Linked DNA regions of Homo sapiens: regions 1, 3, 4, 5, 6 and 7 are each linked to region 2. The links are contacts of gene promoters, found by promoter capture Hi-C in blood cells and fetal thymus (Javierre and others, 2016). All regions are on one chromosome and are shown on one strand. Each heading gives the region's core, a stretch centred on a gene start or on the middle of the fragment in contact. The rest is flanking DNA. Distances are from core to core; before and after follow the strand shown. Region 1 overlaps LOC105370504 (a long non-coding RNA gene). Region 2 holds the start of BMP4 (bone morphogenetic protein 4). Region 3 has its middle 82 kb from the start of CDKN3. Region 4 overlaps LOC105370504 (a long non-coding RNA gene). Region 5 has its middle 66 kb from the start of CDKN3. Region 6 overlaps LOC105370504 (a long non-coding RNA gene). Region 7 has its middle 49 kb from the start of CDKN3.

Evidence for each region. The method cuts DNA at HindIII sites, captures the fragments that hold promoters and counts their contacts. A CHiCAGO score of 5 or more calls a contact.
Region 1: a fragment that was not itself captured here is called in contact with the fragment with the promoter of BMP4 in region 2 in 1 of 17 cell types (endothelial precursors); the score reaches 13.7 in endothelial precursors.
Region 3: a fragment that was not itself captured here is called in contact with the fragment with the promoter of BMP4 in region 2 in 1 of 17 cell types (endothelial precursors); the score reaches 6.0 in endothelial precursors.
Region 4: a contact is called between a fragment that was not itself captured here and the fragment with the promoter of BMP4 in region 2, in 1 of 17 cell types (endothelial precursors). The highest score is 5.4, in endothelial precursors.
Region 5: a contact is called between a fragment that was not itself captured here and the fragment with the promoter of BMP4 in region 2, in 1 of 17 cell types (endothelial precursors). The highest score is 15.4, in endothelial precursors.
Region 6: a contact is called between a fragment that was not itself captured here and the fragment with the promoter of BMP4 in region 2, in 1 of 17 cell types (endothelial precursors). The highest score is 6.0, in endothelial precursors.
Region 7: a contact is called between a fragment that was not itself captured here and the fragment with the promoter of BMP4 in region 2, in 1 of 17 cell types (endothelial precursors). The highest score is 5.6, in endothelial precursors.

Annotation. Positions count from the first base shown.
Region 1 is chr14:53,545,393-53,549,554 of GRCh38, reverse strand. All of the region lies in intron 2 of LOC105370504 (a long non-coding RNA gene), which reads right to left. Among named protein-coding and RNA genes, the nearest start is that of LINC02331, 300 kb to the left of the region's middle. The HindIII fragment of the contact is 7,693 bases long and covers 1-4,162 here.
Region 2 is chr14:53,955,344-53,959,066 of GRCh38, reverse strand. It overlaps BMP4 (bone morphogenetic protein 4), which reads left to right and starts at 2,242. Exons shown (of 4, transcript NM_001202.6): 1 at 2,242-2,517. It overlaps LOC124903317, which reads right to left. Exons shown (of 2, transcript XM_047432035.1): 1 at 2,739-3,723. The coding sequence starts at 3,166. RefSeq lists silencers at 2,280-2,359, 3,009-3,118 and promoters at 1,074-2,416, 298-2,416, 3,344-3,723. The HindIII fragment of the contact is 12,206 bases long and covers 1-3,723 here.
Region 3 is chr14:54,313,039-54,317,029 of GRCh38, reverse strand. No RefSeq gene overlaps it. Among named protein-coding and RNA genes, the nearest start is that of CDKN3, 82 kb to the left of the region's middle. The HindIII fragment of the contact is 5,014 bases long and covers 1-3,844 here.
Region 4 is chr14:53,662,876-53,666,988 of GRCh38, reverse strand. The region is part of intron 2 of LOC105370504 (a long non-coding RNA gene); the gene reads right to left. Among named protein-coding and RNA genes, the nearest start is that of LINC02331, 190 kb to the left of the region's middle. The HindIII fragment of the contact is 197 bases long and covers 1,644-1,840 here.
Region 5 is chr14:54,329,427-54,333,576 of GRCh38, reverse strand. No RefSeq gene overlaps it. Among named protein-coding and RNA genes, the nearest start is that of CDKN3, 66 kb to the left of the region's middle. The HindIII fragment of the contact is 1,315 bases long and covers 1,058-2,372 here.
Region 6 is chr14:53,527,262-53,531,320 of GRCh38, reverse strand. All of the region lies in intron 2 of LOC105370504 (a long non-coding RNA gene), which reads right to left. Among named protein-coding and RNA genes, the nearest start is that of LINC02331, 320 kb to the left of the region's middle. The HindIII fragment of the contact is 3,188 bases long and covers 14-3,201 here.
Region 7 is chr14:54,346,291-54,350,383 of GRCh38, reverse strand. No RefSeq gene overlaps it. Among named protein-coding and RNA genes, the nearest start is that of CDKN3, 49 kb to the left of the region's middle. The HindIII fragment of the contact is 853 bases long and covers 1,570-2,422 here.

The DNA.
Region 1 (4,162 bases), core at 1,609-4,108, 410 kb after region 2:
CGATCTCCTGACCTCGTGATCCGCCCACCTCAGCGTCCCAAAGTGCTGGGATTACAGGCGTGAGCCACCGCGCCCGGCCTCATCATCACTATTTCAGTGGGCCTCCATTTTTCTTCCCCTCTATCTCAAACGCCTGAAAGCTAGGGTAACAAGAACCAGGGAACCTTTGTCCCAGAGGATTCAGCATCAGACTAAGAGGTGGGCACGAAGAGGAAAAATAACTCAGAGCCTGGGGTCACTGGGTTCTACCTTTTCCCCCAGTCATAAGTGGGCTTTCCTACTAACCCAGCTAAACATTTCCCCCTTCTACTTTTCTCATTGTCTTCTTGGACCTCAGGTGTAGAATGCTGATAATTATATTACTCAGTTTGTGATTCAGTATTATCATCTGGCTCTGCCAAGCCTGCTCTCTTTTTTAAAATTGTGTTTGATTATTTTCTCTCTTCATCTTTCATCCTCACTCCCGCTACCCTCCCTCCCATAGGCTGCCCCTTTAATTGTTACTATATGTCCTTGAATATCCATGTATCCTTGAAGTATTTAGTGTGTTGTTTTGTGCAGTACCTGTTTCTAATTTACATAAGTAATATTGCACTAAGCTCTCCTTCTGTTACTTTTTCCCTCAATAGTCTTAGTAAGATCTAGCCATGCTTCTTTATATGAATCCAGTTTATTACTTTAAGCTACTGCCTCTGATTATGTAGCAGAATGCATCACAATATTTTTCTTATCTATTACTTCCAGTGATGGACATCTAGCCATCACCAGTCCCAGCTACCAGAAGTCACATTGCACTGAACATTTTCATATATAAATTCATTAGTCAATGGAAGAATTTCTCTTGGGTCTAATTCTGAGAGTTAGACTAGTGGGTCATGGGGAAGACCCAGGAATACTTATTTTACTACATATTCACATACTTATTTTTCAATACATATTCACATTTTGTTCTCTAGAATGTCTGAACTAGCCCCTCCTGCCCACCTTGCAGTCCAGGAGAATTCTCACATCCTCACTAGTACTTGGTATTATGTGACTTTTTAATTGTTGCCAAGCGGGGTTCCCTCCTCTTTAATTGACTTAGCAATTAAAATTATTATTCTTATGTTCTGTTTTTCTATTTTGTGAAGTTATATGCAATGACCAAATGCAGGAAAATCTCGTTTGCAGTTTGAATAGGTACTGAGGAATAATTCAGTGTTCTGATTAGTAGAAAGCTATCTGTATGGCATACCCAGGTTATCATTTTTGAAGAAGCAGAAAACAAACCAGCTTTCATTATAAAAACTCCTATGACTATAGTTTATGAGAATTCAGAAATCACTTCTGTGTTAAGTGTGACCTACAAACAAACAAGAAAACTGGCACTCATTGAATTTTCCCTGTGGATATACCAGTTAAGAAATCACTTTGCTTTATAACATGGGACTATTTTGGATAAGGTAGCCAATATATTTATTATTTCCATGCTCTTTCCTTGAAATTGCTCTCCCCACAAAGCCTCTGCTGAAGGAGTGATCCTAGGTTCATGTTAGGACCACATGATTCTGCCCTCTGGTCACAGCTTGCAGGATGAGGGAAGTTCATTGATCTAACATTGAACTCATCTATAACCTGAAATGGACCAGTAACAGACTTAGTGACTTTGAATTAAATAAAATGAATCACTTGGTCATGATAAGCACCTGAGCCATCAGGTCATGGAAAGCCTGGCCTAGAGGCAGCCCAGGGCAAGACAGAGCTGAAGTCATAAGAAAACAGAAACTAAGAAGCTGCAGAGGATCTTAGCCTGCAGAGAGGAGACAAGAGCAAATGTGCAGAGAGAAGCAGAGATTACAACCACTCCAACAACTGTGAGTACGTCAATCAGCCAAGCAGGAGCCCTACTGGGAAGAATCCTTACCAAAATCCTTCATCTGATTTCACTCCCATTTTACAGGAAATAAACCTGATGAGACATTCTATCCCAAAGACAAGCCTCATCTACCCCAGGCAAGGGGACGGATTTTCAGGCCTGTTTTCTCTAGCTCCCCAGAGCGTTCTTCAACAAAGCACCATCCACCATTGTGAAGGGAAAATAGAACACCTGAGCCGTCACCACTCCATACCTGTTAGAAGTAAACTTTGATAAATTATCCTCAAGGAGATGGGTAAGGAACTGGAGGGAGAAAAGACAGATGTGGCATTTATCAGGGAATCAACTCATGCATCCAATACACAAATATATCCCCAAACTGTTGGAATGTCAAAGCTAGAAGCTACCTAAATATAATAACTCAGATTATGATTTCACAACATTTTTAAACATCCACCGAGTGTTCTCCTTTGAGTATGCTGAAGATGCTCTAAAAATTATTTTTTAATAGAACAAATTGACTTGATAGAAGTCATCATGTGAGAGAGATGTGGGAGGAAACCATAAAACAAGAAGCTATGATTGTGAGAAATCACTTTCTCACCAGCCAGGAAGCAACTTCTGGGTTGCCAGAGAAAACCCACCCTGGCAATGCCCAGACCACAGATGAACCAGTAACTCTCCATTTGCCATCATGAGTTAGATGCTACCAGACCATTGGCTCTGTAAATAAATGAGCTAAGTACAGTGAACATCCATGTTTTTCTTTACCCCCAAACTCCTTTTCAGGTAGCAGAGTGTAGTGGTTAAGGGAATGGGCGGGCAGTGGGACTGTGAATGTTTCCATTCTAGCTCTATCTTCCCAGCTATGTGAATTTTAGCAAATTACTTAGCCTCTGTATACTTCAGTGTACTCATGTATAAAATAAACATAATAATAGTGCTTCCCTTAAAGGGTTTCTGAGGGTATTGCCTTTTGAATAGTGTCTGGGAAATAAGTGTTTAATTGTCAGCTATTATTGTAATTATTATTTTGGGAACAGCACTAAGATTCTCTTTCAGAGAATCACCATCTCTCCCAGTCTCAGTCCAATTGACTGAGGTGAATCTGACCTCCCGCCTTGGCTCCTCAGACATTGCCAAAGTAGATTCTGTGAGAGTCAAAGTTAGGAGTTTCTATTTGAACTACTGGGAAAGAGCCACTTTTATTTTCTCTGGGGTTTGCTGAGCTAATGACTGTAAGCCTGGAGACACTTGGCAAATTGAGAGAACCTGCCTGAGGATACTGTTAACTCAGAAAAAAAAAAATCAGTCAAACAATGGCAAGACACCAAATCATTATGACATTATTCAAGCCCCTGGATCTAGCTGTGCCCGAAGCCAGTACCCTTAGAATTTCTAGTTGTGTATGCCAAAACATTATCTTCTTTGCTTAACTAATATAAATTGAAGTCATACTACTTATAATTGAAGAAGTCCCAAGGATTACAGTAAATTATGGCCAAGAAATATTTAGGAACTACATAATTTATTTATTTAATTCATCGAAAATTTGTGAGTACCCACTTTGCTAGACACTGTAATGGATACTGTGACACAGCTTTGAACAAAATCATATCTGCATTCTAGTTGGGGAAGACAGACAATAAATAAATAAAAATTATTAAATGGAATGACGTGAAGTTATCATTTTTGGAGGTCAAATACAGTTGAATATTGGCAATTTCACACGATTCAGCCTAAGACCTATAGGCCATTCATACAACAGTTACTCTTTACCATAAGAGTTTAGATGCCCTGAAGGGGAAACACTTTTCTGGCTTCTAAGCAAAAATCACAAGGGGCTGCTGATTTAACATCTTCACCCCAGAGGTCATCACCGCTCTTGCCAATCATTTCTTCTGTCATTAATTCATCCTGATTAATATTGCAAGTTCTGTTCCATCATGGCAAAGGGATACAACCACCACCTTAGAAATCATCTTCTTATTAGGTCCCTCATACCTATAAAAGCTCATTGCTTACCAATATTGTTGCTGTATTTTCCTTCACATGTTTTTAGTAACAATCTGGCTCCCCACCTCCTTTTCCTAATCTTCACTCCTTACTTGATCCCAAGGGTTCCCCTTTATAAGTGATATCACCTGGTATTTTCCTTGTCTGCTGCTGGTCTGAGTTTCTGATTCCTGCTTGGTTGCTCATTTCATGCCTCCCTAACCTAGAACATCTGGCAGGCCCCCATCTGTAGTTTAGGGGAAGGTTACATCTTGGCTGGCTAGAGGGAATTCAGCAGGCCTGAATCTGGTA
Region 2 (3,723 bases), core at 993-3,492:
GCTTAATTGGAAACTCCTGGACTGTGAGTGTCACAGACTCATGGATGGGCCAATCAGTGGCCACTTTAGTGTCTGGGCTGCAGCAAAATGAGACAATAGCTGTCATTCAAAAACCTTTGGAATTAAAAAAACCCCGAAATGACATTGGTGCTTTAAAGTAAAATAAAGTCCTGCCTTTAAGTCCAGCATATCACTGTTGTTTCTGAGTTTAAATATTAAGAACCACATTTCGTTAATGATTAAAACAACAGTGATTGATTTAGGGGCTCAGTGAGCATTTAATCTGTCCTGACTTCAGGTACCATGCTAAAGGAGCACAATGCCTGATGCTGCAGGAGAAACATTAGGTAACTATTTAATGGAGTTTTAATTTTCTGTTATTATTTTTAATAATTAATTGTGATTTTGACTATTTGGAAGCTACAGGTATATTTTGTCCTCCTTTTGGGGTGGTGTTATTGCCCTGCCCTGTTTTAATCAGTGGTTCTTAGAGAAAGTGAACTCAGGAGTGACTTAAAATGAAGGAAGACGGACTTTGGCTAAAATTACAATTAAATAATCAAATCATTTTCAAATATAAAGGGAGCATGCAGATGATCTGGCCCAATCCTTTCATTCTGCAGATGAGAAAACTGAGACTCATAGGAATGAAAAGACTTGCCCAAAGCCATACAGCTTGTTTCTGTTGTTTGGTGCATTAGGCCAAAAGACCTAGGCCTAATAGATGGAAAAGATGGCAGGATGTCTTGGCCTTGCTCTGACAGTTGCTTCTCTGATCTCAGATATTTCCCACCCTTTGTAATCTGTGTTCCACACAGGAAGTAGTTCTTGTTTTTTAAATATCGAAGGTGTATAAACGTAAAGTTTTTATAGATGAGCCACCCAGGGCCAATATCTGTTTAAGTAAAGACCTAAATGCTTTGCAGAGACAGTAAAGTGTCATGTCTGTCCCAGGGAAAGAAATCCAGGACAGGAAATGCTCAGTCTTCCAGCACTCCTCTGGCTACCTGGAGCTCAGGCTATGAGCCTCAACCCCTCCCTGAAGCATTAGCTCTGGAGCAGAGGCTGTGATTTACTTCAGAGATCTGGGCAAGTCCCTTTAACCTGGTAGTCCTGCCTTTCCTTGTTTGTAAAACAGAGAGATGAGGCTGATAGCTCCCTCACAGCTCCATCAGAGGCAGTGTGTGAAATTAGTTCCTGTTTGGGAAGGTTTAAAAGCCACCACATTCCACCTCCCTGCTAATATGATTACTAAAATGTTTTTATATGAAAGGGCCAATTCCTCATCTCCCCTCTTCCTTTAAAAACAGACCAAGGGGCATCTTTTCTTGTCTCCCTGTGGCCTAAAAGGTTACTGCTTCTGTGGTTATCTCCTTGGAAAGACAGAGTGTCAGGACTCTTAGGTACACCAAAAATGAACAAAAAAATCAACAACAACCATAACACCAACAAAAATAACTGCTGTGTCGGTTCTTAAGACGGCTTCTGAGCTAGAAACAGATTTTTCTAACTGTAAAAAACGTGGCCCCAGCCTGTCTGCAGGCCACCTCTGTCTTTAGGCCTTGGGGGGAGGAGGGAAGTGAGCTCATTTACTGGGGTCTACCTCAGGGTCATCACCAAGGTGTTCTACAAAACGCACTTTAAGAATGTTTTGGAAGGAAATTCACCTTTTAACAGCCCAAGAGGTATCTCTCTCTGGCACACAGTTCTGCACACAGCCTGTTTCTCAACGTTTGGAAATCTTTTAACAGTTTATGGAAGGCCACCTTTTAAACCGATCCAACAGCTCCTTTCTCCATAACCTGATTTTAGAGGTGTTTCATTATCTCTAATTACTCAGGGTAAATGGTGATTACTCAGTGTTTTAATCATCAGTTTGGGCAGCAGTTACACTAAACTCAGGGAAGCCCAGACTCCCATGGGTATTTTTGGAAGGTACGGCGACTAGTCGGTGCATGCTTTCTAGTACCTCCGCACGTGGTCCCCAGGTGAGCCCCAGCCGCTTCCCAGAGCTGGAGGCAGCGGCGTCCCAGCTCCGACGGCAGCTGCGGACTCGGGCGCTGCCTGGGCTTCCGGGACCCGGGCCTGCTAGGCGAGGTCGGGCGGCTGGAGGGGAGGATGTGGGCGGGGCTCCCATCCCCAGAAAGGGAGGCGAGCGAGGGAGGAGGGAAGGAGGGAGGGGCCGCCGGGGAAGAGGAGGAGGAAGGAAAGAAAGAAAGCGAGGGAGGGAAAGAGGAGGAAGGAAGATGCGAGAAGGCAGAGGAGGAGGGAGGGAGGGAAGGAGCGCGGAGCCCGGCCCGGAAGCTAGGTGAGTGTGGCATCCGAGCTGAGGGACGCGAGCCTGAGACGCCGCTGCTGCTCCGGCTGAGTATCTAGCTTGTCTCCCCGATGGGATTCCCGTCCAAGCTATCTCGAGCCTGCAGCGCCACAGTCCCCGGCCCTCGCCCAGGTTCACTGCAACCGTTCAGAGGTCCCCAGGAGCTGCTGCTGGCGAGCCCGCTACTGCAGGGACCTATGGTGAGCAAGGCTACCTGGTGAGGGGAGACAGGCAGAGGGGGTCTAGGAGCCTCCTTGGGGGGAAGAAGCTGGTCACAGGCTGTGACCGAGGCAAAAGGTGGCCTAATTATTTTCCAATAGTGGTGCTGGAGGTGGGGATGCTGGCGCTGAAAGACCTTTAAATATCGGCTACTGCCCCTGCCCAGGCCTTCTCTGTCCAGCAGTCCCTGGGAGATTCTCACCTTTGGGAAGTGCGGGGCAGGAGAGCAGAAACAAGAGAAGCCCTTGGTAGGGGGGTCGTTGGGAAAAACTGTGGGGTCTTGGGCTGAACGCGTTGCCCACGGGCTGGAGGTTGCGATCCCCGGACGGAAAGCGCGGGAGGAGGAAGGAGAGAACCGGCTCTGAGGTCCAGAGAGAGTGAGGGGGCAGAGCGACGGCGAGATGGGGAGAGAACACCTAGCTGGAGCAGGTTCTGCGGTAGAGAGCGCAGTCCTGCTGGCCTCTGGAGAGTGCGCGCCGCTCCGGAGGCTGCGTCGAGGGGAGTGTCACCCAATCTGGCCCCCAGCTGGCGGGGCGCCCTGAGAGCTTGCGAACTGCAGTTGCAGGACGCGCCTTCTCCACGAGCTATTTTCGTCGACTTGCGGAACCCAAGGAACCTCGCCTCTATCATTTCACGGTGTAGGGTCCCTAGAGACGACAGCCAAGATCCCAGGGGCTCCCAGGACGCTTGTTCCTGCGGTGTCGTGTCCTATGGGGAGTTCCTGGCGGGACGAAAGGCGGACGCGCGGCTCTTCCTGGCCCTCCAGGCCCGGAACCGACGGGAAAGGTTCCCGTGATTCCCGAGTCCCTGCAGGCTTCTTCCAGCGGGAGTTGGTCCGGGGGCCTTAGAGGCCTCCAAGCACTGCTTTGGAGGATGGTTTCCAAGGATCGCGGTTTGTGAGTTGAAGGCTTTGTGAGAGGTTAAACCCCCAAAAGATACATACTTGGTAAACTGAGGCTACCTGTAAACACATTTCGGCATTAGGAGAAGATTCGAGTAGGGAAGTGAAGGACAACCACCCCGAGTTACATTCCTTTCCCCCAATAAAAAGCTCTGGGGATGAAAGTTCTTTTGGCTTTTATCTTTTCGATTTAAAAATTTGAGAAGAAAAATGTGACTAGAGATGAATCCTGGTGAATCCGAAATTGAAACACAACTCCCCCTTCCCCTTCCTATCCTCTCGGTTT
Region 3 (3,991 bases), core at 88-2,587, 360 kb before region 2:
ACCAGGAAACATTAGGAATGCGGACACATTGAAAGGGTGAGTAGCGCGGAATTTATTGGGAAAAAAAAAAAACTCTCAGCAAAGTGAGAGGGGGTCCTGCTAACAGGCCCCCACCTCAGATGGATTCCAGGTCACCACGCATGAGCCGAAGAGGCCAGGCCCCTCGCCCTTGCACAAGGTGTGACTTCCCGTGGCTCCACCTTGTTCTCCCGGTGCGCAAGTGGATCGGAGATTCTCTGGGGACCCTCCCCCTTATCTGCCTCCTGCATCTATCACTTCTTTCAGGATTTCTAAAGTAAATCTGTAAGATAAAATTCAGGGATGGTAAAAAAGTTTTTGATGCTTTAACAATTTGGAAATGAGTTACATATTCATGGTAACTTTTAAATTCAATTCATTGTGTTAATCAAGCACCTACTAAATGCCAAGAAAAAAAGTAAGTACACAACTCAATTCTCATTCTGAAGCGGCTTACAGTCTTGTCAGAGCTGCTTAGAATCCAGGCAGAGTGGAGCCTGGACACAAAACCTGGGCACAAAATGACAGGAGATGCACAGGGACATGCCGAGATGGCATGATGCATGTGTGTAAATGCAAAAGTGACCCAGTGATGCTGAGAGGGAAGGAATGACAGAAGTGAAGGCAGACAGGGACCACGAGGCCTCCGGGGAGGTTTTCTTCCCCTTACAAAAAGGTCTCAGGAGAGCAGTTGTTCACTGCTAGGCTTGGCACGTATGGAGACCAAAGATAGAAGCAAATGGTGTGAACTGCATTTCCTTCCTCCCTGATGGAGGGTGGCATCAGCTGGAAAGATGTTCACGCTTTGCTCCAGGAAACGACAGACCTCACTGATTTTCAGTGAACACATCATCAGGCCACCAGAAACTGTGACCAGATCCCAGGCTTCCAGGCCTCCACGGCTCCAGGAGACCATAAGCTCTGGGGGGACAGCAACTCAGTGTTTTTGTTTATTCTCCCTGGACTCCCAGAGCGGGGCTTTGCTCGTGGCCTGTGGCTGATTTCGGCTGGTTGAATTGCATTCGTTCTGATGGTACATTTTAAATGTGAGGTCCTGGGATCCTTCCATCTTTCAGTTTAAATGTCATCACTCAGGGAGATCTCTCTGGATTGCCCTACCTAAAGTGATCACAACCTCCCTTATTCTTCAGCACAGCGTCTTGTTCATTTTGTTCATGGTGCTTTTCACATACTGTTTATTTTGCTTACTAATTCTGATGAAGAGAGCAGCCCTCTATAATAAGACAGTATTATATGTCAGTAGTTTTGGGAAAAGTTAAAGTTTCAATAGGTTTTTAGCTCTCCTTGCAAATAGCCTTCTGGAAGTTTACTTGTGTACGACCATGGGTCTGCTTCCCTTCCTTTACTGAGTATCACAAGGTCTCCTCTTTTGCACCTGAGTGTCTGGACCCCAAAGCCTTTCTCTAAGTGGTGCTCAGGGCTCTTTGGAGTAATTTCGAGGCAGCCAGCCTCTGGGGTGTGGTGGTCCCAGTCTCTGGGCGGTGAGTACTCTTGTCTGTCTCTGCAGTGCCCTTCTCATTAGTGACAAGACTGTATTTCACATTCTCAGTGTATGGTCTCTTTTTTTCCACTTCAAGATATTTGGTATTTAATATCTGTCTCTGTTGCTGGATTAGACACCCCATGAGGGCAAGGACCATGTCTGCCTTGCTCTTTATTATATTCCTAGGGTGTAGCATAGTGTCTACCCCATACCAGGTTCTCAGTCAATATCGATCATTGCTTCTTCCCATTCCTACCAGCCACATTTTGCCTCCTCCATCTTCCAACACCTGTGTAGCCTGCCCGAACTTCCCGAATTTGAAGGGTAAAGAGGGAGTAGAGGTAGAGCAGCTTCTTCTCGTTCTTCTCCTAATTGCTAACAAGCTCTCTTTTGCGGGGTTTGGGGAAACAGTGGAGGAATACAAAAAGTTCCAAGAGAGTCTTTTCCTTCCTCCCCACCCCCGAGCACGCAATCCAACCATTGCATTTAGTCTAGTGGCTATTCTTGAAATCAGCCTCTGCTCCTCTGGAAGTCTCTCGCCCGGCTCCCTATGTGGGCTGTTCTTGTTCTTGGATGCTTGGATTGCCCTTTATCTACTCGCCATCTGTGTAAGGGGATCCTGCCAAGATGATCAGATGTGAACTCAGTGCCAGAAACATTTTAATTAATTTATGGTGATAAAATGCGAAAAGAAAACCATTGAGGAAAGCCTGGGCCAAAGAAAATTAAACATAAGAGGAAACAGAGAAACTGGGGCCGTGTGGTCTTAGAAGGGAGGGCCTGGTTGGCAAGGAAGCCAGCAAACTCTTTCTTTCTCTTGCCCTCTTCACTTGTTTAAGCAACACGCAAGTGGAAAAGCTGCAGAGGACCTTGTGGCAGGGACTGGAGGGGACAAGGGAGATCACTGAATAGCCTGCTATTGGCCTGGACTTCTTGATTAGGGCACTTGAACATGGGTGTGCAGGAAACATTGAGAGCAAGGCTGCAGGGTTGCAAGCCTCCCTGTAACAGGGGCAGCCAGTGTTTCTCAGGTGAGCAGAAGCGGGAAGGTTCTTAAGCTGCAGCTCTGAAAAAGCATCAGCACGTGTTTAAAGAAGTCACTAGAGTAAGTTTGATTTCATTGCAGTCTGGCGTACAGTTCTTAGGGTAACATCTATACTGAGAAAATACAGAAGAAAACTAGTATTAGCTAGCTTTGCCCCTCCTAAGACAAAAACAGGCCAGCAATGTTTATTTGTAGGCTACTGGGTCACTTGACTTATTTGAGATGTCGATTCAATTTAGGTTTCCTTTCTTTTTTTTTTTTTTTATAGGAAATAACTACTCAGGGTTGAAAAAGACAAACTTTTCAGTTAGTCCTTCCCATTGAATTTTAGAAGAAGACAAAAGAAAACACTTGGGAACCAGCACACAAGAATTCAGTCAAAATAAGACATTATTTAATTCAATAATTTAGTTTCTAATGTATTTGCATATTACATGTCCCTATAGATTTGATGTCTCAATCTAACTGGTGCAATTAAAAAAATAGACTCTTAAAAGCAACTGGGAGAAGAATACAGCAGTCAAAGAGAACAAAAGGGGACACATTAGCTGAAGAAAAAGAAAGAAATGAGAGAAACTTCTCAGTGATTTGAAAAAATCTATAGCACACATTACCTATTTGTCCTAATTAAGAGGGAACTATGTAAAATTGAATAAATAAATTTATGTTGAGCTCAGCAGTAGATTATTTATACAGCTGATTTAATAGGATAATAGAATTTTAGAGCTGTGACTTCATACTGTGGGTCTGAATCAGAACTGCCTAGATAGGTTTCTTCTTTTTTTAAAAAAATGTATAGGATTGTGTCGTACTTGCCAGGATTTATGGGGCTGGCCTTGGGATGTGCATTTTGAAAAAGCTAGCAGGTGAGTCTGACGTGCATTCCTATGCATCCGTTCATCACTTATGCAGTGCCTACCAGGGGCCATAATACTATGGTGGGTGCTGGAGACACTATGGTCAGGGAAAAAAGACATGGTCCTTTCATTATGCATGTATGGTTTGTGGGTAATATGCACCTTTTTATTTCCAGCTAAAGACCTGATTACCCTGAAAGTTGAGTGGCCCTTCTCTGGATCATCCAGTTAGGTGGTGGTAAACTGGAATGGAACAATACCCTAATTTCCCACTTCTTATTTCCATATTCTTTCCACTAACTAGTCTTGCTGATTTTCAGATTACATTTTGTTTAGGCTTATATTGAGATTCCAATTGTACTGGAAAAAACAGCTGGGTTTAGATTTAGGTTCAATTCCTTGCTCTACTATGTATAAGCTTTATGATATTGGGCAAGTGAATAACTTCTAGCAGTCTTGGTTGCTGTATTAGTCCCTTTTCATGCTGCTGATAAAGACATACACAAGACTGGGTAGTTTATGAAGAAAAATAAGTTTAATGGACTCAGAGCTCCATGTGGCTGGGGA
Region 4 (4,113 bases), core at 493-2,992, 290 kb after region 2:
CTCAGCCTCTTCCCGCTGTCTTTCTTCATGGAATGTATCAAAGTCAGATGACCCATTGTTTGAAATCTGCCACATTTTGCAACATAGCATTCTAAATGATGTGAGTGAGAAATATGTAAAAGTTTTGGATAATATAAAAAGTGGGAAAACAATTAGTTTGGCCTAGACAGACCTATGCAGATTTCCAGAGGAGCTAGGACTTCAACATGAACAAGAACACAACAAAGAAAGGAGGAAAAGGAATTTCATGCAGAAGGGATGAAAAAAGGCATGAAAATATGAAAATTCAGAAAAGAATATTCAGTATTAGTGATGTGTTTGTTACATGTGCAGTGAAGAATAATTGAAGATGAGACTGGGAAGGGGAATTGGGACCAAATCACAAGCAGCTAAATAGAGCAGTCTACAGGGGTCACATTTATCCTGTTGGCAAGGGGGTCTGTTAGAAATGGGAGGCACATGATAGAGCTGCACTTTTAAGATGAAGATGACTGGGCATGGTGGCTCACACCTGTCACCCTAGCACCTTGGGAGGCAAAGACAGGAGGATCAATTGGGCCCAAGAGTTCGAGATCAGCCTGGGCAATATAGAGAGACCCTGTCTCTAAAAACAAAACAAAACAAATACAAAAAAAGAAAAAAGAAAAGAAAGGATGGTGGTGTTAGCCCTGTGGGGGCAAAGTAGAAAAGAGTGTAGAGATAGGGAAATTTCTCAAGAGGTAGTTGAGAGATCCAAGCTAACAAGAAGGAGGTCTTCGACCATGGGTGGTGAGAAAAAATGGTGAAGCCTGAATCAAGAGATGCTTCAGAGGAGAGGAGAGTTACAAGATGAGATAATTAATTGAAACTGTGGAAATAGGTAGAAGAAGGAGTCAAAGATGATTCTGAGTCAACATTTTAAATTTCTTCACTCTCTGGATAGGTAGATAGACAAATAGAAGATAGACAGATAAATGGATAGATAGATAGATAGATATTAGATAGATAATAGAGATTAGATAGATAGGTAAATAGATAAATAGACATATGCTAGATAGATAGATCTATCTTTATTCTACTCTCACCAGCACCCTTTTAAAAATCTAGACATCTGCATATAATATAATAATGAAGTACTCAGCACTTGCACACTACGGTAGAAGAGCTTCAAGGAACTCATCATTTTCTCAGAAAAGCTGGGCATGTGGAATAGGTTACAGGGAGATTAGGGAATTTCCTCCCCTGGGGGGCTTTTACAATAAGTTAGATACCTGTTTGTCCATGATGGCTTAGGTGTTGTCCTTTCTGAAGCCTGGGAAGTGTCCTATTTCAATTCTTATTATCTCTTCCAGGCCTATAATTCTATGCTTCTACATCATTTTATGGCTTAACCTTAAAGTGTATCATTCATTTGATAAAATAAATCATGAGATAAAACTTGGAATTTTCTATGGACACTGATACAGAATGTAGTCTGAAAATTCTTAAAATTAACTAATTAACCTACTGAATAAATTATAAATAATGTTATGGGTTAGGGTTTCTCAAATCGTGTTTGATGGAACTACTCCTGCAATATTCTTACTCCAGAAAGTGGAAAATGATTGAAATTCACAGTAGACATTAGCATATAAAAGCCCTAAGATGTCCTATAGAAAGAAGCTTCTTCAATTTTTACCTAAATCTTCTCAAAACTTTTAGAAGAACGAGATATATGTACCTATAACTATACACATATATGGCTATCCATCTATAGCTATCTGTGCATGCACCCATCCATCCATTAGCTATTTATCTGCTTTTTAACCTCCTGTGAAAACAGGGTTTCACAAAACACACTTTGGTAAATATCATCTAAGCTTGCCCAAGGATGATCTTTGGTTAATCTGATAATTATTTTTAAATTACAGTTTGCTTCGCCACAAAATGGAGATAATAACACCTACCTCATATAGCTGTTACAAGGATGAAATAAAATAAAATGTGTAAAGCACCTGGCATAGGGCCTGGTACCTTGTTAGTGCTCCAGAAATGTTAGCTTTCTACCCTCTGCTCCTCCATTAAGGTTTGATATCTAATACATCTCACAAATACATTAGTTTAAGTGCAGAAATGCTTAAGCAATTAAAACTTTTGGCTTCTTGTAAGGAATGAGCATACTATTCTGTGGTTAATTATAATGCAGAAGGTCAAGTGGTTATCCTTCAGTAATCACAGCTATATGAAAATCTATGTGTGTGTGCACAAGGGCCATTAAAGGAGAATAAGAATTCACCTATTTTTAATAAGTGGTGGGATCATGGGTAGTTTGTTTCATCTTTAAAAATTAGTAGATTTTGTTTATCACAGAAGTTTTAGTAGCAATTAATTCATAGCAATTCATAGCAATCAATTCATAGCAAAATTGATCAAAAAGTATAAAGAGTTTCTATGTAACCCCTCCCACCACACATGCAGACTTCCACACCATCAACATCCCCCAGCAGAGTGGTATATTTGTTACCAGCAATCAACCAAAAATGACACTTCATTATCAACCAAAGTCCATAGTTTACATTAGAGTTTACTCTCGGTGGTGTACACTTTATGGATTTTGACAAATGTATGAAGACATGTATTCACCCTTCTAGTATCATACTGAGCAACTTTACTGCTCTAAAAATCCCCTGTGCTCTACCTAATCTTTCTTTCCACCCCCAATCCTGACAAACACTGATCCCTTTATCATCTGTCCACAGTTTTGCCTCTTTCAGAATACCATATACTTGAAATCATACAGTACGTAGCCTTTTTAGATGGACTTGTTTCACTTAGTAGTATGCCCTTAAGTGATCTCTGTGTTTTTAAAAGCTGTTTTACTATTAGAGAATATCACCTTTTAAATGTAAGAAAATGAAGTAAATTGAAAATAAACAAATAAATAGAAGAAGCCAACCAAAGAAAAATAAAGAATGGATGTCCTGAGGCAAGGGCCTCTGTCCTGGAAGTGGCTGGCCGTGCCTGCTTCCCATTTCCCCAGCTGCCGAGTTCCACCTCCAGACTGACAATTGCAAGCTGTCCTACTCCTCTTGTTCCCTGCTTGCCTGCTGTCACAGGGCTCCTGCTTTTCTCTCCCAGGAGCTCCACTTTTAGGGCCCCCTTGTGGATCTAAGGACAGAGCAGGCAGCAATCAGTGAATGCAGAAAAACCAAACAAAAACATGGAAATCATTTCCATGTATTTAGCACTTACTATGTGCCAGGTGCTGTACTAAGCATTCTACATATATTATTTCATTTAATCTTCACGTTGATGCTGTGAGATGGATAACTGTATCCCCATTTTAGAGATGCACAAATGGAGGATGTGAGAGGTTTAATGACTTTCCAAATGGTACACAGGTAAGAATTAGCAGAACCAAGATTCAAATCCAGGATGGCCTGTGTCTAAATCCTGTGTACTTAACAATGCTTTGTGCTTAGAACGGTTACCCGAATACCATAGATAAGTGATTCCCAAATGTTAATCCTGCCCTTAAAAATTTTTGCTTATGTGAATCACCCCGATCACTTTCTGTTGAGCAGCCTCATCCCAATATTCCAGGTATGAGAAGTCACTAAGGGAGAGACAGAAGTCCCCTTTTACCCTCTCCCTGAATTTCTCACTGTCTGTGTTCCTGATCTACACCCCCATCTCAGGGTTTTCAGGCCCTGGAGGAAAAAAGTGGAGGAAGTTTGTGTGCCCCACACAGTTCTTAGAACAAAACCTGAATATTTAATATAAAATGACATTGAATTGGCTTCCAAGTTTTATGTGAAATTTGACTTTTGATTTAAACACCAACAAAAAAGAGGTAAGACAACATCGTGATAAGAAAACAAAGTTGTGCACCAAGACAGACATCAAGCTCTACCACAAGGTTCATTGACAAACATAGAGCCTAGAACACAATTTCACACATATGTAACAGAGAACAAAATTTTATGTTGTAATTTTCTGAATTAGAATTTTTAAAGTAGGCCTTTTAAAATATCAGTTCTTTCAAGGTATAATTTACATATACTAAAATTCACAAATTTTAATTTAAACTTTCAGAATATTGATAACCAGTCATGTAACCACCACTGCAATCAAGATGTAGAATATTTCTTTCAC
Region 5 (4,150 bases), core at 466-2,965, 380 kb before region 2:
ACTGAATTTCCTAAGGGCCGGGGGATGGGGGGAGGTTAGGGTAACCAATTTTGCAGGTCTTTTTTAAAAAATAAAAATTCTTAATTTAATTTTCAGCTACTTGACAAATTTTTAGTTTTAGAGTTAGGGTTTGATTCTGTGTATAAATCATGCTTTGAGTATTTCTTTCATTGTGATAAAAGCTTGATTAGGTTAGGTATTTTTAAAGAAAACTCATAGGGAGAGGCTAACATTGGAATAAATGCTTGCCCATTAAATTCAACTCTACACTTTGAAAGTAGGACAGGTGAGAACGGTAAAAGGATTTAAAGTTATTATTATTTTTTTTCCCATGGATTCATTCTATGTCGTGAAGTAAATCACTTTTTTTCCATACGAACATACAGTTGTAAGGACTGATAATACGATGTCTCCGAAAGATGATGGAAGAATTTATTTATCCCAAGCACATTGTGCATTTTGAGTTTCATGGATTAAGCACGTAAAAGTAAAATAGGGATCTTTATTATTGAAATAATTGCTGTCATGGAACAGGCAGCCTGCTGCTCTTTGCTCTTCCTGAAAGTTGGGAGGGATCACCATTGCTCCACATTGCAGATGGGAACCTAGGCCATCTAGGTTTTGTTTTGGTCGGAGGGTGGGTCCGTGGTGATGACTGAATTAGGAAAGATGTAACAGGGCATGAAGCAACAGTAACGGGAAGGGCCACTTTTACTCAAGGAGATGCTTCCAAGTCAAGTTTTACTATAGACTCAAACCGCAGTTACTTCCCACCACGAGGGAACCCCTTCTGGTGACTCTATTTGAACATGCTTGAAATAGAAATTCCGTGCTGGTTTCGGTGGAGCTCAAGCTTTGGAGGACAAGATGTGCTGATCATTATCTTAACATCTGATGATGGTGGGAGTACCTGGAGGAGTAGTTAACAGAATCCATCCTTCTGGATTCCACGGTAACATTGACACCACACTCTCAGTAGAGGAATTCTGCAAAAACTGCATTTGGCAGCCTTGCAGTTAGCTTAAAATACTTCAGCTCACAAAATTCTTTACAAGCTTTCTTAGCACAGAAGGAGTAAACTGCAAATGAAGTATGTGTTCTTTTTGTCTAATAAGTGCTGTCACTTTTTATTAGATATTATGTATCTGTGGACCAACTCTATTGAGTCCTGGTCTATATTTTTGCTTATTGACTTGCATCTGGGCTTGCTTACATGTCTGTTTCAACAGGTTGTTAATATAAAGGCTGTTGCATTTGCTTGTTGAGGGGATGGCATCTGATTTGGTTGGTTTAGCTAGGTAAATCTGGTGTTACGGTGTTAGTGGCTAAGGTTCTAGTTAGCCCTGCCTAGAAACAAAAACATGTTTCAATTGCATCAAAATTGAAATTTGTGAAAGAAATGACCATATTTATTTCACAAAATATGGTCATTATTCTGGGGGAATGAAGGGATGGTGTGGGTGACTCTGGAAAATTCATTGATTAAACCCAGCAAAGCCCAGGGTAGATACTGCTGTTGGAAATCAGTTGGTGAGATAACTGACAATAGCTGGAATCATGCATCTTATAGAATTAAGAGTTTTGCATTATTCTTTTCATAATGATCAGACGCTTGTCAAGTGTTTCCCCATAGTCATATTCAGCATGACATTTCAATATGGTCTTCTCACATTGAAATTAATTTCATCTTAATTTAGCCGTTTGCTGGTGTGCTTCTGGCCTGTAATTGAAGACAACACTCCACACAAAGTTATGGGGTTGTGTGGTGATATTAGTTGGGCAAAGCAAGTGGCTGCTTTCTAAGGTTATCCTGTGTAATGCCTTTTTCCAGTTCAAGAGCATATCTTGTTTTAAACAACTTTTTGAAAGGCAGCCAAAGAAAAGGTTGGCTCTGATATGCCCTTACCCGTCCTGTTTATGGGATACAGTGTTCCATTTCTTGGAAGAAGATGATAAAGTGAAGTTGGATTTCGGAGGTGCACGGGAATATGTGTTCGTGTGTTTAAATTCTATGTGTAAGAGGAAAGCCCAAAGGAAAAGAATAAAATAGAAAAACATTACAATAGGAAGATGGATTACTATGTTATACTTAGTTACAGGTACCAAAGTAGGAGTGAAGTTCTAATCTTTTTTAGTGAAAAGAGTACATTAGGAACACCTAATGGTGATGAATTGGCATTACTTTGGATGGATTGAAGTTGGGGCAAGAACATGAGAAATGGCATGGATTTGGAGGAATTTTATTTTCTTTCCTGTTCACTCTTATCAAACATAAAGGCAAACAAAATTTTCTTGAAGGCCAGAATTGTTTTTGTGATTCAGCTGATCTCACATGTTAACTTTGGGACACTCACCTAGAAAAACGGGAAGCTTAACTCCCTGACAAAACTAGGAATTCCCTGAAATAACTAGAAACTTCCCAGAAAGTGGTACACTCAGCCTTGTGTGGAAAACAAACAAACAAACAAAAAATTCCACAGGCTGCGGAAACCTATTTGTTAAACAGCGAAGGGAAGTGCCGTTGGCCAGACAGTCTAAACACAGGAATGTCAGGCAGGAGATCAGATCTACAATCGGAAGGGGAGAAGAGGCTGATAAGGCCTCCAAGAAAGCAGGTCAGTCACCAAAAGTGGTTTCAGAGGTAAAGTGAGGAGGGCCAGGATGTTTGTGATACAATCACATTGTGCTGCTAAATTCTGGCACACACTGCAGGAGCTGATGAGCTGATGCTAAGAGGCACTATTTAAATAATGCAGTTTGTGCAAATGTGGAACCCCCCCAAATTGTGCTTACATATGACATGAAATACGTTACATTTAATGTGAAACAATCTTACTGGGAAGTAGTCTTCCTCCTTCTCAACAGGGCATCTTCTGTAGTCAGTGCCATTGAGCAACATGTTAGTTGTATAACTAGGGTTAGAGATGATGTGTGTGTGTGTGTTTTTTGTTTTTTGTTTTTTTTTTTTTTGAGACAGGGTCTCACTCTGTGACCCAGGCTGGAGTGCAATGGTGTGATCATGGCTCACTGCAGCCTTGACCTCCTGGGCTCAAGTAATCCTCCCACCTCAGCCTCCCAAGTAGCTGGGAGCACAGGCACCACCACATCTGACTAATTTTTAAAATTTTCTGTAGAGACAGGGTTTTACCATGTTCTCGAACTCCTGGGCTCAAAAGATCCACCCACCTTGGCCTTCCAAAGTGCTGGGATTACAGGCGTGAGCCACTGCACTAGGCCGACAATCTGTGTTTTGAACTCTGGATCTGCGAGGCTCATTTCCATATATTAACAGGGAGATCATTTTTGTGCAATGAGGATTTTATATGGCGTTACTTACTTTTCCTCCAAATGTAGACTTACTTCAATTAGGCTCAAGACAAGACACTTTCATGCTTCTCTTTCTATTTTTGGTTTCTTGGAAGTATAACCTTTCTGGAGAAGATGGCAACTTTGAACATTTTCTGTGCATTTGTGAGTTTCTAAGATTTCAATTTATGGTACCAATTCCTACCCTGAAACACTGGAACTTGTGGTCATAATGATAAGCAGTGAAAACAGAGTTTAAAAATGTACCCCAGGTAACCGTGAGAGTGAGCCTCGCTGGGGATGCTGTGCAGGTAACGGTGAGAGTGAGCCTCCTTGGGGATGCTGTGCAGGTAACCGTGTGAGTGAGCCTCCTTGGGGATGCTGTGCAGGTAACTGTGTGAGTGAGCCTCGTTGGGAATACTATGCAGCTGAACATTTTTGAACTCTTGCTTCATCACTTCTGATTCTGCCCTTGGAGGACAGAGATATGCAAAAGCACATGCTGGGGATTCAAAGGAAGCTAAACTGTATTCCAAGGTGTTCTGAAGCTTGTTTTCAGCCAGTGTAAGCGTGGTGTTCTTGACAGGGGGGTAGTGTTCAGGTGTCCGCATGTGGAAGGCGAACATTGCTGCTAAGTGAGAATTGTCAGTAAGTGGAAATCAGAAGCGGAATACCCTTAGCCTTCCTTCTTGTTCAACATTAATCTCAGGACTACATTTATAGGCTGATTCCAGATGTGCTTGATTCCAAGGCTGAGTTTTCAGAGGTGACACGTGGTGTTTACCTCCGCATAAAAAAGGTCAAATTGTGTTATAGATCGAAGGGCAAATGTCTGACTATCCCA
Region 6 (4,059 bases), core at 358-2,857, 430 kb after region 2:
GCCTCATCAAGCTTCCTTTTCAAGTCTCAAGTACATATTTAAAGCTCAACACTAGAATTCAATTATACTTGAATTGCCAGCAAGAAAAAAAAGAGCTAAATTAACAAAGCTGTCAAAAACACTCTCTGCTTTAAACTTACTGGGACAACTGGACAATGGAAATAGTTCACCCATTTAAGGGTTGATTTCATCTGGTAAAGATTTATTGAGTTTCTTTCTTGGTCCCCAAGAAGATAGATGGAAAGTCAATCCTGATAAAATAGTTTGCAAAATTGACTGGATTGCTAGATGTATATAGCAGATTTGGTAAAATCAGTATAGAGAGAAGTGAACAGTTTATGTATGACCCAACAAGATCATGTTACAGTGGTCTCAATAAATTAGAATGGACCCAGCAATAAAATAATTTGGTACAGTGCGCACTATTCAAAGAGTACAATTAAGTACCTACCATCTCTGCTTTGACTCCACAAGGTAAGGGTCTGTAGTTTGGAAATGAAACTAACCCAACGCGTGTGAAAGAGTTCTATTCTTCTCCACTAATAAAAATACATTTCACGTAATACTCTTTTAAAGGATAATTCAAGTTTCTGGGATAACTCCAAACTGTTCTTAAATGAAAATGTCTTATAAAAAAAGTGTGATGAGATTTCAAAAATAATTACCACCAAAATTCAGACTTGATTAAAACTCTAAGTTGTATTTATTTTTAATATGACATATTTTGTAAGCTGTACAATGGGCCAAGCGAAGATAATCTTGGACTACTCCTTTTATGCTAGGTTTTTTTTAACTTAACCCTTTTTTTCTTTTGAGACAGAGTCTCACTCTGTCGCCCAGGCTGGAGTACAGTGGTATGGTCTTGGCTCACTCCAACCTCCACCTACTGGATTCAAGGGATCCTCCTGCCTCAGCCCCCGGAGTAGCCAGGACTACAGGAGCATGCCACCACACACAGCTAATTTTTGTATTTTTGTAGAGATGGGGTTTCTCCATGTTGGCAAGGCTGGTCTCAAACTCCTGGGGTCAAGTGACCTGCCTGCCTCAGCCTCCCAAAGTGCTGGGATTACAGGTGTGAGCCACTGCACCTGGCCAATTTAAATCATATTTGAAACACCATCCACAGACACACTTGATAAATACCTTATTCTGAATCCCATAGTTATGTAAAATAATCCTTACCACTCAAAATAGAATAGACTTCTTTTGCCCTGGAATCACCCACTTATGTGGTTCCCATTTTAAAACATCTAGAGGCCAGAAAGGGGGTTGGGGGGCTGAAAAGAAAAAAACAAAAGAATATAAATGTATTTTTACTACTGAATTGTACACTTAAAAATGGTAAAGATGGTAAATTTTATATGTACATTTTACCTCTATAATAAAGAAATAAAAATTTTTTAAAAATTTAACACATTCCTTGATTTACCTGAAGTTGTTCTCAGCACCTTACCTTAGATGTTAGAATCTTAGTGCTGTAAAGAAGCATAATGTCAAACTCATCCCATTCTCTCATTACAAAGAGAAGGGAACAAAGGCTTGGAGAGTTTAGTGACTCATCCAAGGCACATAGAGCCATGCAGTGGCAAAGCATGTACGGCCGTCCAGCTCTCTGATCTTTGCTCTGATTTTTTTCTGTGACATCATTTATTAACACCAGATGCCCTTCAGAAGCCACCACCATTTTTTTTCCCTCCCGTGTATAGTCTACTGAAGAAAAATAGTAATTCAATTTAAAAAGCATTTCTGTGTACCTACATGCATGGCACTCTACAAGGTAAGGTGGGCAGGCCCAAAGCCAACTAAGACTAGGCTCCTCTCTGCAGGGGAAGACAGACATGCTCCCGGATGACCATCATCCATAGTCGCTAACCTCCCGTAAGAGCTGACACAGACATGACCCATGCTAGGAAGGCACAGGAGTTAATGGAGTCATTACAGATTAGAAGACCTAAGAATGCTTTGAGAAGTAGGTGACAGGGTGGATGAGGAAGATTTTGGCAGGTGGCATGGTATTCATTCTGGGAAATTAGTTTATTCTGCCAGACTTGTTCAATTTTAATTCATTAAAAAATGGAATCTAAAAATATAGTAGACCATATCCAGTTGATGGATGGTGGCTTGGAATGTTACTACTGACTTAACAGGTAAGCTGGCAGACCACTAAATGTACATTTATCTACATAGCTTTGTCCAAGTTATTTGTATAAATAAATCTGTCCCCAATACAATACTTTAATTTTATAATGGGGCATTAAGGGCAGACATTTTATCCATTTTATGGATTTTTAACATGAGAATCAAAGAGATTGAAGACTTATCCACAGAAACATGGCTGGCAAGTGGCAGAACTAAAGTTAAAGCCCGTTTCTCCTCTGCCTTTTCCCTGCATTTACATACCACCATGTTGTCTTTACAATTTTACTGCTTTTAAATCCTTTTTTATGTGCATTGAATAAGGTCACGAACTTTCAGAATACCACTACAAAACCAATTTTGATAAATCAGATATAGCTGTTACACACAGTGGACTCACCCACAACCCACCATCACAACTGTGATCAGCAACCTAATGTGATCGGGCAGTATCCTCTAGACATGGCCCATCAGACATGACATACATACTCGCCTTCTTTCCTAAGAAAACTGGAAACACCTGGATCATGTTAGGTCACTTCTTGGTTTCTACAGCTGGATTTTATGCTTCTCCCCTCTTAAGGAGTTGACAATCTGGAAAAAATCTTGATATTCAGCCAAGAAAACAAGAGCCTTTTGAACACAGACATTTCTATATGTTCTGGCAAAGGAGTGGGGAGAGTGAGATGGAAATTATTCCTTATGGTGTATAAATAAAAATGTGGGCAGTAAGAAAGATCGGTCATGACCTTCCAGTAAGGATATGTGAAGCAAGAAAAACCAGCCCATTTTCCTTCTAAACAATCCTCTTCAGCATAACAAGTGGCTGCATTACGCAAGGGCCTTGGTCAGTAGTGCCCAGTGAACAGTAACTTCCAGCCTCCTGTGTTTCAACTGAACCATCTGCTGTGTGGGTCCACACAGCTGGGCTCTGCTCAGTGGTTCCTCCACCCTCTCTCAAAGAGACACTTGAGAATCTCCTCTCTCCAGGCAGAGGGCAGGGGATCAGGGGTGGGGTGGCCCTGCTTACTCTTGTAGCATACTGTTTCTCTGGTTGAAAAAGCTTCTGATGTAAAATTAGTCATCAATTTAGCTATTTTTTTCCACGAGCCTCAACTCTGGCTTTCTCAATATAACGTGTAGATGTAAAATATCCAAACCATGGGGAGAACTGCATTTTCCAGGACATAAATATTAAAGCCAGCAACATTCAGAGCAAATTTGGCATTAACCAAATATCACATCCCTACCCAGGCTATAAGCTGAAAAGTCACCATATTGAAAACAAGAAGAGGGAGTTTCCTACCCAAGGGAACACAAACTACTCCAAAACTGAGTGTGAAATAAGGACGCGTTGGCCTTTTGCTTATGGCAAGAACAGGCTAAGGTGTATGTGTGTGTGGAGTGGGAAATGCTGCTTTGCATTTACTAATTGTGAAACACATGCATCAGCCAGCAGAGACAAAGCCCAGGTGTGAGGGCAAATTCTACCTGCTGCTGACTGATTTCATTGATCAAATTGGTTATCTACATATGTTTATTTCCCATCGATGTGTATTTCAGTGCTTGCGAGCAGCTAGAGATACAAAGATGGGTGTGTCCCTTGTTAAAAGTCTCTTTCCACATGTGCAGTCCTGGTCATACATCTGATCTACCCCAATGCTGTGCTTTTCATCTATTTCACTACGCCTGGCTGATGGCCATTAAAGGCAGGTCCCAAGCTCCAGCTTCATTCTTGCAGTTGTCCAAAACATTCTCCTATTGCTCCTGATCTCACGTCCTTCTGGTTTCACCCAGCTCCTAACTCTTGACTTTGCCTCTCATCAGCCAACCTGAAGGTGGCCCCTTCAGTTTAATGGCAGTATTTTCATATGCTGGTTTTAAGCCTCCATGTTCCCTAAAGACAGTGGATCAGAATAATCC
Region 7 (4,093 bases), core at 747-3,246, 390 kb before region 2:
TCAGACACTATTTTGCACTCATTATGCACAAGTTCAAACTTTAGTCATGTGAAGAGAGCTGAGTGCCTTGTCTAATTTTTCAGCACCAAACCAAATAAACAAAAAACGCATAAAGTCCATTTAAAAATATCCACACTGCATCAGGGAACAGAGAAGCTTTTTCTCTCTCATGTGAAATCTTCTCCAGGAAACCACCAGGACTGAGGCCCCCATGGCGCACACATGCTTGCTTTAGGTGCTTACGTTAAGATGGTATTTCATTAGTTTTGGATGGTCCCTTCCACAGAGCTCAGATGCTATGCTTCTTTCTATTTTAAAAGGGGGGACGAAAAGATTGGCTTTTCATCCAAAATACTCATGTTCTTCTAGCATATTAAAATTCATTTGTGACTAAGTCATTATAGTGAAGTACTTGGAAACCTTTCTATTCTAGAGAGTTCTGGGCACAAACACATTTACAGTGTGCACTAATGCCAGGCTCATGTCCTCACGTCCTCCAAGGGACAGGGATGAGCTGGGTCATAAACCAAACAGTGGGACTCTGGCAATCCCTTTTAGCTCAGGCAGATGCAAAATTGAAGACCCAAAAGAAGCCTTCCAAAGGTCACAGCAGGTTGCTCTCAGGAAAAGAGAATCAGTAATTTATTTTTAAGCAATCTCTTAGCCTCTGTGACAGTTATGTTTCCTTGTAAGCTGCTTTGGAGCCACTCACCACTCTGAAATTGCAGAGTAGGCTACGAACAATCCGGCTTCGTAAGAACATGCAAGTGAGGACCCACGAGGAGATATTCTTGTGCTTTTTAAAGTGCTTCTCTCACTTTGCTTCCTAAACTGCCTTAATTGAGGCAAGGGAGCCAACATGAGTGAGTTCCTTCCCGCGGCTTGCTCTGCCGTGGAGTTCAAGGATGCCTGAGCCCTCAAAACACGGCGCGGTGCAGTTGGGCTGATGGGAAGTCCTGAACAGCTTGCTGAATTATTACTTCATTCTCGGCTGAAGCAGCAGGAGGCGAGATGATGAGTGAAGGAAAAAACCCATGGACTCCAGCGTGGGCTGAAGGAACCAAAACAAACACTGAGAAGACAGGCCAATACTGAAATCTGTTTCAAGGATGGAGCGCGCAGGAATGTTTCACCATATTTTGTCTAAGGAACAGATTTCATTTTTTAATGGCTGTATTAATCAGTGGAAGCAGAACGGCAGGAAGGAATCCGTTTTCCCCTCTCCCCAACGCCTCCCGTGGCTCGCCCGGACATTCCCCCCATTCTTTGTACTGAAGGTGGCCTGGAAGTTTTAGAGGCGTGAGACAGGTTCTGAACTCGCATGCCCTTTCTTTCTCCTTCCCGAATAAATTTTGCGTAAGAATATTTGGGACAAGGAATCCACCATGGCGGGGTGCAATAAAAGCGTTTCACAAATTATGATTTCCCATTCTCTAGGCAGTTCAGCTCTGCCTAACAGCTCTAATTTCCTAGACAAATAGTCCTCCCTGTCCTCTCCAGCTGCTCACAGGCGCCTCTCTCTGGGTATTCTTTTTAAAATCCCTCTCCTGGGGAATTTTTAAAAAAGCTTCTCGCACTTTTTCATGCGATTTTCATGGTTCCATCCATCTCCCCACTTTTTTGGTCAAAGCCTTCCTCCCAAATATCAATTGCTTTTTCAACCCGTCCATACTACTGCTCAGCTGTTGGTTGAGCTTCTCCTAGCCTCCTGCTGCTGTCACTGGGCCAATGGAAGCCAGTCCCTTGCCTCTTTGTTCTATTATTTTATGGCAAGATAATAAACTTCTACATTTTTGAAGTACTTTTCACCGACTTGATATCAAGTATTTTGATAATCACAAAGTGATCAAACACATGTTCTCTTTTTCCAGTTACATAATGAGATCAAATATTGATTAGCAGTGAGTAGATAGATGTATATTGTACACACACACATACACCCGACCATCCTCCTTTTGGCCTATGGAGACTGTTACTCCAAAGAGCCGACACATTTGTGTTGACATTTCAGTCATCCAAGAAAGCTGCCAATGTCACTTCCTTTGAATATTTTCCTTCAGTTTTCAGGAAAGAGTTGGTGGGACTAGCTTATCATGGATGGCATGAGCTGAGGGGATGGTAATTTTTCACAAAAGTAGACATTGTTCGAGGCTAATAGTAAGCTGTAATCTAGACTCATAACTGTAGAGGGCGCTCTTGACTTAATAATGACAGCATTGCCATTGTCACTCCAGGAAGCTGGGAGGTGACAGAGTATCCTTTTATTACCAAGTATTTTATGGGGAAAGAGAGAAGGTGCCTTTTGGAATAGACAAGAAATCCATATTGTTTCATATTACCTTTTATAACATGTCTTCTTAAGAATAAGCTCATCATCTAATTCGTAGCCCCTGGTTACAGTTTTGTTGAAAGTGCAGAAGCTTCCAACTAATGAGAATGAATCTCATCAATGTCTCATACCTTGTGTTGGTCCTGCCACTTGGTAATGGGTGCTTTGCGTGCTGGGAGCTGGGAGCGATCTTCCAAAAATGGCAAGTGGGGTGGGCACTCCTTTGCGGAAAAGCCTTCTGTGGGTTTCAATTTCATTTAGCATGAACTCCCCACTTCTTACTGTGCCCTACCAAGGCCTTCTAGGATATAGCTTCTTCCTACACTTCAAGCTCTCTTTCTCTCTTCCTTCCCAGGGGCCGAATCTGGGACAGCACATGGACCTTGCCAAGCGGGGCACACTCTGTGGCATCTGCATTTGCTCTTCCATCTGCACAGTGAGCTCTTCCGTGCATCTTCCAAAGGCTGGCTCCTTCCCATTTCTCAGTCCTCTGGTCATAGAAACCCCTTGGAGGGAACTTTTTTGACTACCTCATCTAAAATAGGCCCGGCCCCAGCCAGCTTTTCTTTTTTAATTAAAAATTTAATTGTGATATAATTCACATAAGATTTCACAAAACACCACATTCACCATTTAAAAGTGTACGATTCAATGGTTTTCGGTATATTCACAATATTATACGGCCATCACCACTATCTAACTTCAGAACATTTCCATTGTCCCCAAAAGAAACCTCATACCATGAAGAAGTCACGGCCCACCTCGCATTCCTCCCAGCCTCTGGCATCCACTCATCTACCGTCTTGTCTGTATGGAATTGCCTGTGCTGGGTATGACACACCCACTTCTTTTTAAATGTTAAAGCACCCTGTTTGTTTCCTTCCTGGCATGGATGTATTTGCTCATTTACTTGTTTACCATTTATTCTCACAATCTATGAATAAGTCGCAGAGTTTCTTCACAATTCAGTCTGCCCAGCCTTAAAGTGAGCCCAGCCTTTCACCATAGGATCCAATCTATGTGGTGGTGCAACCACTTCTGGGGCTACTGTGGAAGAGACTCGTCTGTGGTAGCATGCCCTCCAAGAGTTCTTGAGGGCTCTATATCTTTTGAAGGATTTTCTGCTTTTCACTTGCAACCCACAGAGTCATAACTGATTTAATCACCTTCTTCAGAGTACTGCGTGCATTTGTAGAAGACTCTTTAAGGCCTGGGCTTCTTGCTGCAGCAATAAATACCAGTAACCTTTACAGAGCATGGGCCGTATGTCAGGCACAGGGATATGTGCTTCACTTGTATTTTTTCCACTTGGTTTTATTACAGTCCTGTGAAATAGGTATAATTATTGCATCCCATTTTAAAGATGAGAGAATTGAGGTTAAGGGAATTGGCACATTTTACTCAGCTAGTTTGTGGCAGAGTGGAGACTGGAGTCCCAGCAGTTAGACCTCCAGGGCTCATGCTCTTAACTATTCTGCTCTTTCTTCAGCCTCTCAGACTTCAGTCAAGTGTTAGCACGAAGTGACGGTGTGATGTTTGCATGCGGCATATGAATATTATTGCTCCTGGTAAGATTGTTTACGATGACATCATAGACAAAGAAATGTTTCCTTGAGTTCCTAGTATAGCAGCTGAGCAACAGTTTTTGTTATATGGGATTCTTTTCTGCCCTTTAGTTTGGGAAGTGACCAGCAAGGTGTCCTGGGAATGCCAGGGGGCTGTATAAGTCTTTGCGCATGGATGAAAGGAAGAGGCATGAGATGG